Regions from separate parts of the Homo sapiens genome. Here region 1 is linked to region 2. The links are contacts of gene promoters, found by promoter capture Hi-C in human tissues and cell types (Jung and others, 2019). All regions are on one chromosome and are shown on one strand. The core of a region is centred on a gene start or on the middle of the fragment in contact, and the rest is flanking DNA. Distances in the headings are between cores, read along the strand shown. Region 1 overlaps C17orf67 (chromosome 17 open reading frame 67). Region 2 holds the start of COIL (coilin).

Evidence for each region. The method cuts DNA at HindIII sites, captures the fragments that hold promoters and counts their contacts. A contact is called where the count stands out against the background at its distance.
Region 1: a fragment that was not itself captured here is called in contact with the fragment with the promoter of COIL in region 2 in 1 of the 25 tissues and cell types used here (spleen).

The regions. Positions count from the first base shown.
Region 1 is chr17:56,808,767-56,814,629 of GRCh38, reverse strand. The region is part of intron 6 of C17orf67 (chromosome 17 open reading frame 67); the gene reads left to right. Among named protein-coding and RNA genes, the nearest start is that of C17orf67, 22 kb to the left of the region's middle. The HindIII fragment of the contact is 6,914 bases long and covers 1-5,401 here.
Region 2 is chr17:56,958,204-56,964,099 of GRCh38, reverse strand. COIL (coilin) reads left to right here and starts at 3,050. Exons shown (of 7, transcript NM_004645.3): 1 at 3,050-3,325. The coding sequence starts at 3,081. It overlaps LOC105371836 (a long non-coding RNA gene), which reads right to left and starts at 2,952. Exons shown (of 4, transcript XR_934875.4): 1 at 2,688-2,952. RefSeq lists enhancers at 2,969-3,018, 3,029-3,168, 2,918-3,212 and a silencer at 3,339-3,448. The HindIII fragment of the contact is 17,787 bases long and covers 1-5,896 here.

The sequences.
Region 1 (5,863 bases), core at 695-3,194, 150 kb after region 2:
AGTTCTAGAATCTGGAGAGGGCTGCTGAATGTCACCCCTGTCCTGCTTGCTGGGGAGCTGTTCCCTTTAGCCAACGCTAACCCCATCTCCTGCCTCTTCCCTTGGGCCCCGGAGCAGGCTGGACCAGCATCCTTGGTCAATGATGGTCTGTCCAGGCAGGGAGAATCTCTGCCCCAGCTGCCTGAGGGGTTCTGCTCTGATCTCATCCCTCTGATTTTGGTCTCTGGCCTTACTTCTGCCCTGTGGGGTCATGATATCCACCTGTCTAGTCTTTCTGAACCAGGCTCCCTCTGTGAGTAGATGTTACTAGACCCTGCTATGCTGGCCCCGGACCCAATTCAGGCCTGGCTTGGTTCCTCCTGTTGCTAAAATGATACTGACTTTGGTGGCATTTTAGCCCCACCCAGTGAAGGGAAGTAGCAGTGACCCAGCAAAGTTAGAATGTCTGGGAAGCCTGTCTGTCAGGCTGGTCTCCCATCCTGGCCCCTTCATCTGGGCACGATGCTTATCCTGTTTTCCCTGAATCTCCATGTTGAGGCTCAGAAGGAGCTGCAGTAGCATTTACCTTCATTCACTGCAAAATCTCGTGCATAATTAGATTATTTCATTTAAAGGCTCTTATTAAGATATAGTATTGCACAGTGACGAAGAGTGCTGACTTTGGGGTCAGACTGGGTTTGAATCTCCCTGTTTACTAACTGGGTAAGTTTGGGGAAGTTTCTTCACATTTCTGCAGCTCAGTACTTTCATCTATAAAATGGGGATAATAAATACTATTGCTGATATTACTATAATATTATTATTATAAATAATAATGTAAAATAATTATTTTATGATGATAAAACAAAGTACTTTTTAAGAAAGCACTTAGAAAGTGCTCAGCAAATGGTAAGTACTCCTCTGAGTATTAAGTACCTGGTACCTGCTAGGTGCCGGGGCTGTAGGTTTCTGCTCAAAGTCTGTGGTGGAGACAGAAGTAAGCAAATGGCTGCTATGCAGTATGATTTAAGAACAGATGACTTCAGGCTCTTAGGGATAGATGTGGCTTTTAATTTTTTTTTTTTTGTAGAATAAGAGGTATCTTGGGTTTTATCTTGTATCTAGTAGAGAACAACTGAAGGATTTTTCAAGTTGGGGAGTACAGATCTGGGTGTTAGAGAGTTTGAGACAATGAGAGAAGGGGCCCATGATTGAAGTCTGGGATCACCAACACTCAGAGGTGGGCAGGGGAAGAGGAACCCTGAAAGGGCTGAGAAGGAATGCAGAGAGATAGAGAAGCCAAGAGAGTGGGGGTGGCAGAGCAAGGCGGGGAGGCATAGGAGGGGCTGGGGTGAAGGAAGGGCAGCATGTGCACAACTGTGATGGGGAGGAGGATGCCTGGAGGGAGGGATCCTGTTGGCGGCTGGCGGGTTGGGGGTGGGGGCTCTGGCTGGCCCCCTGTGCTTTTGGCATGATGCCTGGAGCGGCCATTCTGCAGCTCTTCCTCAGGGACCCGGCAGGGGCTGGGGGAGCTGGTTGAAGAGTCCTCAAAGCAGTGGCTCCTGCTCAAGGTGCTCGAGAGGCAGCTCTAATGACTCCCACATCTGCCCCCTGACATTTTCTGTGCCAGCATCTGCACCTGGCTCTTTTGAACTCTGTCTGTGGAATAACAGTCTTTGTCCTAACTGAGGCATTGTAGATGTGGGTGAACAGGTGGGTTTGAATTGCTGCAGCCCGTTGTTGCAACTGTTGTTGCCAGGCTAGACTCTGGCCCTAAAACCCTGTTTTGTGTGGTCCTTCCCCTGCTCAAAAACTTCTGAAAGCTTCTCCTCTGTTTGCTTTTTCCCACTTGTGGTCATCACCTCCCTTAATCCTTGACAGCCCTCTGCTTGCTTCCAACTTTGCAATTTTACTGAATATCTGGCTTTTTCTGGTTTGTTTTGCTCATCTTTTATAGGCTTGACCACCACCTGCTCCTCTTAACTGCCTCGAACCTACCTGATTAGTTTCCATGTAACTCCTTCTTGCCTCAGAACCTATTGCTGAGCCACCATCCCATCCTCCATGTCCCTCTCAGAGACACTTCATCCAATGTCCAGAATCCTCAGGCATTCAGTCCAGTTTGGAAAAGTGGTCATATGTTTTACAATTGAAATGTGAAACAAACATGCAGTCAATTATTGGGTGGCTAGTCTACACCAGTAGTTCTCATCCATAGGTGATTATGCCCCCTCATCCCCAGGGACATTTGACAATATCTGAAGACATTTTTGGTGGTTACACCTGTGTGGGGCATTGCTTTTGGCACCCAGTGGGTACAGACCAGGGATGCTGCTAAACACCCTACACAGGGCACAGGGCAGCCTCCACCACCCTCTGGCCCAAAATGTCAGTAGTGCCAAAGGAGAGGAACCAAGTCTACACATTGCCAAGTAAACTTTTTCTTGTTTACTCTCTGTCACGCTGTGTGTGTCTCTCTCTGTCTCTCTCTATAATTGCACTCACTTGAACACACACAGAATTGGTTGAATTAACAAATAGTTTCTGGTATCGTATTTTTTCTAGAAATGTGTTTCTTAACTTTGGTTACATTCTGGAACCACCTGGGGAATTTAAATTCCGATGCCTGGGTCCCACTCCCAGAGGGGTGGCCTGGGGTGGGACCTGGGTATGGGGGATGGGGCCAAAGCCCCAGTGATGCCAACCTGCAGCCGAGGCTGAGAACCACTGGGCTAGGCCATCTGGGAGAAATCAGCCACGTGTGTACCAGCTCCTGTGGTCTAGTTGGGAACATAAAAGCATTTAGAAAGCTGTTAAATGTTGAACTGGGTGGTATGGAGAGTATCTTAGTTGTTTAGACAAAAAGAGAGAGTGAGAGGGTCAAGTGGTGCGTGCTGATCAAGATGTGCACTTAATTAGATTTTATATTGACCATGCCCTACTAAGCACCAGGGACTGAGGATGAAAGATAAACCAGACATTCTTCCTTACTCAAGGTGCCCATTGTGTGGAGGTGGAGCCAGAGTGCCCCAGCCTGATTTGGGCTCACTAACGAGGTTATCTGGTACAATGGACTGCGGCTCTGCAAGAAGAGAGTCTCGAGCCCCAGCCTGATTTGGGCTCACTAACGAGGTTATCTGGTACAATGGACTGCGGCTCTGCAAGAAGAGAGTCTCGAGCTCCAACTGGAAGGAAAGGGGAGGCTGGGAAGGCTTCCCAGAGGAGGTGCCCACCCAGCTGTGGCTTGAAGGATGACCAGGAGTTCTCAGGCAGGGCAGGGGGTAGGGATGAGGCAGGAAGAATATTCCACCCAGTGCATTTCCAGTCCATATTCTGCCGCTAACTAGTTGTGGACTTTGGGTAAGTCACTTCCTCTTTTGGAAGCCTAGTTTTTTCATCTATAAAATGCAGAGTTTGGCTGGAATCTGGCCTAGATTCCAGAATGTCTAATTCCAGGTCTCATATTGTAGGGCTCTGGATAGAACCTTGGGGCTGACACAGGTTTCCTGGTGCCAGTCTGCAATGTGACAGAAGAGCCAGAGGCAGCAGGATACCAACCCAAGCGAGGAGTCAGGCAGTTTATTCTGAGGCCCCTGGAGGGGTATCCCTAGAAACCACAGGCCTCCTCACCTCATGCTGGCCCTGCGGCTGGGAGTACTCCACATCCTCGACTTACCATTTGACCCACTCACGCCTCTTGGGTCTCCTTGTTGACTTCTTCTTTTATGGATTTACTGAAAGCAAAATTAATAATGCCAGTCAGTGGCATGTAAAAAGAGGTAATTTACTGCATTTAACTGTGACTGTCAAAATGATCCTGGCCCTGCACTCCCAGTTGGAGCATAAGAGGCAGTGGCCTCAGGTTTGTCCTTGGGTGGTGAGGAGCCGATAAGCCTGGACCTCTGGCCAGGGGAGGCCAGAGGCTGGCATTAGAGCTGCCATACGGGCCCACATCTTCATAGCCTGGGAAGGAGGGAGTTCAGAGGCTAAGGCCTTTGCCTCCTGGGAGCCAGCCCTTCTGGCTCTTTGCCTTTTGCCAAGACCTCCTCACCCTCCCTGTTTCTGAGTGTAGGCCAAGAACAGCTGCGCACAGATGTCCCTTTGCTTGGGAAGAGGGTGGGATGGATGCACCATGCTGTGAATTTGGCTGCCAGTATTGTGTATGTGTGTATGTGTGTGTGAATGTGTGTGAGGGGTGTGTGTATGAGGGTATGTATGAGGGTGTGTGTGAGGGGTGTGTGTGAGGGGTTTGTGCATGTGAGGGGTTTGTGTGTGTGAGGGATGTGTGAGGGGTGTGTGTGTGAGGGTGTGTGTATTCGAATGTGAGAATTGTATGAGGGGTATGTGTGTGAGGAGTATGTGAAGGTGTGTGAGGGTGCATGAGGAGTGTGGGAGAGCGATGCATGTGTGTGAGGATGTATGTGAGGGGTGTGATGGTGTGTGTGAGAGTGTGTGTGTGAAGGGTGTGTTCAAGGAGTGTGTGTGAGGTGGGGGTGTGAGGGGTGTGCGTGAGGGGTCTGTGCAAGGAGTGTGAGGGTGTGTGTCAGAAGTGTGAGGGGTGTGTGAGGGTGTGTGTCAGAAGTGTGAGGGGTGTGTGAGGGGTGTGTGTGAGGGATGCATGTGTGAGGGTGTATGAGGGATGTCTGGGGTGTGTGTGTGAAGGGTCTGTGCAAGGATTGTGTGTGAGGTGAGTGAGGAGTATGTGTGAGGAGTATGTGTGAGGGGTGTGTGAGGGTGTGTGTAAGGGTGTGTGTAAGGGGTGTGTGTGAGAGGTGTGTGAAGGTGCAGGTGTGTGTGAGGGTGTATGTGTAAGGGGTGTGTGAGTGTGTGAGGGTGTATGTGTAAGGGGTGTGTGAGGGGTCTGTGTATGAGGTGTGTGTGTAGAGGGGTGTGTGTGAGGGTGTATGTGTGTAGAGGGGTGTGAGGGTGTATGTGTGAGGAGTGTGTGAATGTGTGTAATAGGTGTGTGTGAGGGTCTGTGTGTGAGCAGTCTGTGAGGGGTCTGTGTGTGAGGGTGTGTGTGTGGGTGTGTGTGCGCGTGAGGGTTGTGTGTGAGGGGTGTGTGTGAGGGGTGTGTGTGAGGCTGTGTATGTGTGAGGGTGTGTGTGAGGGGTGTACGTGAGGGTGTATGTGTGAGGGGTGTGTGAGGGTTCGTGTGTGTGTGTGTTTTGAAAAGGCCTTACTGAGTATTTTTTCAGAAGGTCTGAGTTCCAGCCCCCTCTTCTACTTTCGCCTTGACTTGCGGACCTGGGTTTTGTGGAATGATGGCAGATGGCATCGCCAGGTTGTTGTGAGGCTGGGTTGGAAGGTACTTGGATGCCACAGCAGAGTTGGGTTTCTGTACACAGTAGGGAGCTGTGCAGGGATTTCAAGCAGGGGAATGATGTGATTAGATCTTGTTTCCAGGGGCCCTTTAGAGGTTCAGGACACAGCCTCTTAAATGCTTGCCTTTAGATGCTGTCATACCTGGGAAATAGGAAGTGACGTTTTGGATGCGCTATTGCACCTTCTTGCCATGGTACCCAGGAGACAAACAAGTGGACTTGGGCAAATGAGTAGAGTTAGTGATCATTGGAGAATGCATGTGCCCTTGAGAACAGAGCCACATACCCTCACACTCACCCCTCCACACTAAATCACCGAGAGATGACTGGTCAGGTTATTTTATTTTGCTTCTCCATGTTAAGGGACTGTGCAAAAGAAAACACTTCCAGAGAGGGAAGAGGCCATTGATGAGGGTAAACAAATGGTGCTTTAGGGGAGGTGTTAAGAATTCAAAATGAAAACAAGTATGAAGATTTGCAGAAGTCTCTCCTCATGAAGATCTACTGAGCCATGTTTATACACTTAACACTTGGCTTAAATATTGGCAGAGGTTGGCTTC
Region 2 (5,896 bases), core at 1,801-4,300:
GCTATGGCTCACACGAGTAATTCCACTGCTTTGGGAGGCTGAGCTGGGAGGATTGCTTGAGCCCAGAAAGTAGGGGCTGCAGTGAGCTATGATCTTGCCACTGCACTCCAGCCTGGACAACAGAACAAAAAACAAACAGGCTGGGCACAGAGGCTCCCGCCTGTAATCCCAGCTCTTTGGGAGGCCGAGGTGGGCAGATCACCGGAGGTCAGGAGTTCAAGACCAGCCTGACTAACATGGTAAAACCCTATCTCTACTAAAAATACAAAAATTAGCCAGGCGTGGTGGCGGGTGCCTGTAGTCCCCAGCTACTCGGGCAGCTGAGGCAGGAGAATCACTTGAACCTGGGAGGCAGAGGTAGCAGTGAAGAAAAAATTGATCGACCAGACTTCATCACAATTTAGAACTTTTGGTCTGTGATAGGCCCTATTAAGAGAATGATTAAAAAAAAAAAAAAGCTCCAGAGTCAAAGAAAATAATCCGCAATCCACATATCTGACAAAGTACTGTTACTGGTGGAGGGTGTTCTTGGCATCTTGAACAGAGAATTGGACAAAACGCACAAACAAAGCAAGGAAAGAATGAAGCAACAAAAACAGAGATTTACTGAAAATGAAAGTACGCTCCACAGGGTGGGAGCAGGCCCGAGCATAGGGGCTCAAGGGCCCTGTTACAGAATTTTTGGGGGCTTAAATACCCTCCAGAGGTTTCCACTGGTTTCTTGGTGTATGTCCTATGTAAATGGAGAGGATGAGGTAAAGTTAGAAAGTCATTTACTCCTCGTATGCCCTATGTAAATGAAGAGGATATTTCCTGTCACAGCTGAAGTGTGAATTGGCCTTATGTTCCCTGCCTCCAGATCCTATTTTCCTGCCTCAGTACTACTATCTAGAATACATAAAGAACTCTCAAAATTTAACAATCTAATAAGAGTAGATGTAAAAGACTTGAAGAGAATTTCACTGAAGAAGCACATAAACACAGGAAAAATGTTCAACATTATTAGCCATTAGAAAATACAAATTAAAACCACAAGAGGCTGGGCATGGTGGCTCATGCCTGTAATCCCAATATTTGGGAGGCTGAGGTGGGAGGATAGCTTGAGCCCAAGAGTTTGAGACCAGTCTGGGCAATGTGGCAAAACTCCGTCTCTACAAAGATTACAAAATTTAGCAGGGCATGGCAGTGCATGCCTGTAGTCCCAGCCACTCAGGAGGCTGAAGTGGGAGGTTCATTTGAGCTTCAGAGGTGAAGGCTGCAGTAAGCCTTGTGATCACGCCACTGCACTTCAGCACTGGAGACATAATGAGACCCAGCCTCAAAACAAACAAACAAATAAATAAAACCACAACATACCACAACACATCTACCAGAATGACTAAAAAATAGTGACAATGCCAAATGGTAGTCAGGATGTGGAGAAACTGGGATTACAGGGGTGAGCCACTGCGCCCAGCCGGAAATGCCCAAAAGTTATCCTGTATGGTGTAAAAGGGGAGTAACCCTCAGTTCTGAGGGAAATCCCTGCCCCTTTCCTAGGGATACAGAAAACTCATGAATAATCCATCCTTTGTTTAGCATACAGTCAAGAAGTAACTATAAGTATACTTGACTGAGTATACTTATAGTATGGGCTCGCTGCTCTGTCTATGGAGTAGTCATTCTTTTATTCCTTTAATTCTCTAATAAACTTGATTTTAGTCGGAGGTGGTGGCTCATGCCTGTAATCCCACCACTTTGGGAGGCCAAGGCAGGCAGATTGCTGGAATTCAGGAATTCGAGACCAGCCTGGCCACCATGGAAAAACCCTATCTCTACAAAAAATACAAAAATTAGCTGGGCTTGGTGGCTCACACCTGTGGTTCCAGCTACTAGGAAGGCTGAGGTGGGAAGTCACTTGAACCCGGGAGGCAGAGTGCACCACGGCACTCCAGCCTAGGTGACAGAGCAAGACTCTAAAAAAAGAAAATCCAAAAACCCTTACTTTCAGTTAAAAAATTTTGTTTTCAATTCATCTACTGACTCCCTGGTATCTACAACTTAACTAGTCTAGTGAACTTGGGGAAGTTACTCCTTTTTTTTTTTTTAAGACAGAATCTTGCTCTATTGCCCAGGCTGGAGTGCAGTGGCACGATCCTGACTCACTGCAACCTCCACCTCTTGGGTTCAAGCGATTCTACTGCTTCAGTCTCCCGAGTAGCTGGAATTATAGGCACATGCCACCACACCCGGCTAATCTTTATATTTTTAGTAGAGTTGGGGTTTCACCATTTTGGCCAGGGTGGTCTCAGACTCCTGGTCTCAAGTGATCCGCCCACCTTGGCCTCTCAAAGTGCTGGGATTACAGGCGTCAGCCACTGCTCCTGGCCTCTAGTTACTTCTTAAACTCTCTGAACCTTGTTTTTTTTAAATCCTCTAAATAAGGATAACAGTTCATAATTCCTAACTTTTGTTATGAAAATTAAAGGAGTTAATATATATTATGTGGAGAAATGTAAATTCTAGTTCAAAAAATAGAAGAAATAATGTAAATACTGATTTATTTATCTGGTGAGAAATGCAAGGACATTTTTGTTTGGTGGTGGGTATTAAAAGGCTAAGGTATTTATATTCCACTGGATACATTTGGAAGAATGATTAACAGTGTTATTTCAAAATTTCAACATTGAGAACACACTAGGACTTACATCTTTTTCAACTCATCATGATGAAAAATTTTGTCAGCGAAATGTGTTAGGATTGTTTTATAAAAATCTTTCACGTCGATGAGCAAATATCTTAGAAGACTACTGCTGAGGAGAAATGTTATTTATCCAGAGAGTTGCCTTAATTAGGAGACCCTACATAGCGCCCAGTAGAAATGTAATAAAGGCATTTCACTTATTCCCTTCCTCAGCCCTGCCGTGAACAAAATTGAATGAAATCAACCACGCTCCGAGTTCTCGCCTAGACGCAGCCTGTAGTAGCCAGGTTTCACCACTAGGTGGCACACGCCAAAGGCTCCGGCGGGGGCGAGCCGCCCGAGCACGCCTCTCGGTGGCCCCGTGGTATCTCTCGGCTTCCGTTGAGCACCAAGCAAGATGGCAGCTTCCGAGACGGTTAGGCTACGGCTTCAATTTGATTACCCGCCGCCAGCTACCCCGCACTGTACGGCCTTCTGGCTTCTGGTCGACTTGAACAGATGCCGAGTCGTCACAGATCTCATTAGTCTCATCCGCCAGCGCTTCGGCTTCAGTTCTGGGGCCTTCCTAGGCCTCTACCTGGAGGGGGGGCTCTTGCCCCCCGCCGAGAGCGCGCGCCTTGTGAGAGACAACGACTGCCTCAGGTGCGCGGCGCAGGGAGCGGGACGGCCGGGTGGGCGGCGGGCGGGGGACGCGCCTGCGCACGCCCGGGCCTGAAGCCGCTAGACCTGGTAGTGGAGGGGATGGGGGATGGGGAAGGGGACGAGGGTTGGAGGGGGGTGGGGCTGTAAAAATGCACGTTCGCGAACCCCGGAGATCCTGATTGGTGTAGTCAACTTTGGGGCTCAGGAATCTGCATTTTATTATTATTTTTTATTATTATTTTTTTTTTTTTGAGACGGAGTCCTGCTTTGTCACCCAGGCTGGAGTACAGTGGCGCGATCTCGGTTCACTGCAACCTCCACCTCCCGGGTTCAAGCAATTTTCCTGCCTCAGCCTCCCGAGTAGCTGGGACTACAGGCGTCCGCCACCACGCCCGGCTAATTTTTGTATTTTTAGTAGAGATGGGGTTTCACCATATTGGTCAAGGTGGTCTCGAACTCCTGACCTCAGTTGATCCGCTTGCATCGGCCTCTCAAAGTGCTGGGATTGCAGGCGTGCACCACCGCATCCTGCCCCTATTATTTTTATTTTTGAGACTGAGTCTCATTCTGTCACCCAGGCTGGAGTGCAGTGGCGCGATCTCAGCTCACTGCAGCCTCCACCTCCCGGGTTCAATCGATCCTCCCACCTCAGCCTCCCGAGTAGCTGGGCTTACAGGCGGGCGCCACCATGCCCGGCTAATTTTTTGTTTGTTTGTTTGTATTTTTAGTAGAGACGGGGTTTCACCGTGTTGGCCAGGCTGGTCTTGAACTCCTGACGTTAAGTGATCCTCCCGGCTTCCCAAAGTGCTGGGATTACAGGCGTGAGCCTCCGCGCCTGGCTGGAATCTGCAGTGTAACGAGCATCCTTCCCGGGATGCTTCTGATGACAGGAGAATCAAACTTGGAAAATCCCTGATGCCTAAGGGCAGGGCCAGGCTTTCTTTCAGCCTTGATTTAGCACATCCGCGCTTAGCTAGGCACTGTGCGACTCTGTTGCGTGCCCATGGTGCAGATGTGCCGGAGACCCGGCCTTACCCATGGCGGCCTTCAGGGTCAGGTGCAGGAAGCTGACAAAGGGGAATCGTTGTGTTTTCTTCATAACCTGCTGTTGTCCAGCCTTAGTTCTCATGTGCCCAGTGTCCCCTGAGACTTCTGGTGGCGTATCATTTTGTGTCTCACCCAGACATTTTGGGATTCTCTCAAATAAGTGTCTTGAGTCCTTTTGGGCTGTAAATTGGGAAACACAAAATAATCTTAAATATGCTTTTGGAAGTTAAAAAAATGATAATGAGATGAGTATCCAGGAGCAATTGTAGTGTGAATTGCTGAAATGTGGTTGAGTTGCCACAGTAAGATGATGGTATCTGATCATTCCAGTTTGGATTCATATCTTGGACTGATTTATTCAGACTTTTTTTTTTCTTTTTTAAATAAAGAGACTGGGTTTCCCATGCCCAGGCTGGAGTGCAGTGGTACGATCATAGCTTGCTGTAACCTTGACTTCCTGGGCACAGGCAATCCTCCCACCTCAGCCTCCCGAGTAGTTGGGACTTCAGGCCAGGCAACCACGCCTGGCTAATTTTTGTATTTGTTGTAGAGACAGGGTTTCGCCATGTTGCCCAGGCTGGTCTCGAATCCCTGGGCTCAAGCTGTCCTCTCACCTCAGCCCCCCAAAGCACTGGGATTACAGGCGTAAGCCACTGTGCCAGCCTTCCTTCCCCCACCCCCTTTAAGCTTCAGCTACAGTGAATTAATTCCAGAGTTGTGAACCAGGCTATTTTCTCTTGCTGCCCTTTGTCGTTGAATATTCCTTACCCTCAAGCATGTCAGATTCCGTAAGATTTCTTCAGAACATCAGGGAATTTAATTTGGAACAGTAACTGCATCTTTAAATCAGGATATTATGATTTATTGAATAATGTTCAACTGTTTCAAATGACAATTTGAAATAATCCAAATTTCAAAGAGTTTTTTTTCCCCCTTTTTATTGACTGTGAAATAGGTCTCTATTCTCTCTGCAATTCAAGGATTATTTAAATGTTACAATTCTAAGGATTGTGTCCCATCCTATTAAGTTTACTTTCTGAACTGTCTCTTGCCTAATGAGTTAATAACTTGTGCTAACTATAATTATACTTTAATGAATCATGTGGGCATTACATTCTTCATAATGAAGTTAACAATGACAAAAACAAACCATGAAAACTGTTATAAGTAATAATTACAACACGATGACAGGCAAATCTTTCCTAAATGCTTCAAATGCACAGCTGCATGTGGCAAAAAATACCTCTCTAGTGGCTTCAGTGGCAAATGGGCAGACCGTAGAAAAAGATGAATCTGGAAAGTTCGTCTTTGTTTTTGTTGTTTTATGTCCACAATCATTGTTTTTCCCTGGCAAATTCACTTTTCTTCAGAGCTACGGAAGAACACATAGTCTCTATTCTCAAAGTACCCAATATTGTTGGACTGGGACCCAAATAATGAGTCTCATGCTTTTGTATATTACCTTCTGTGATACAGACAATTAGACTGAATAGTTAGACCAAGTTATATGGTAAGTGCAGAAGC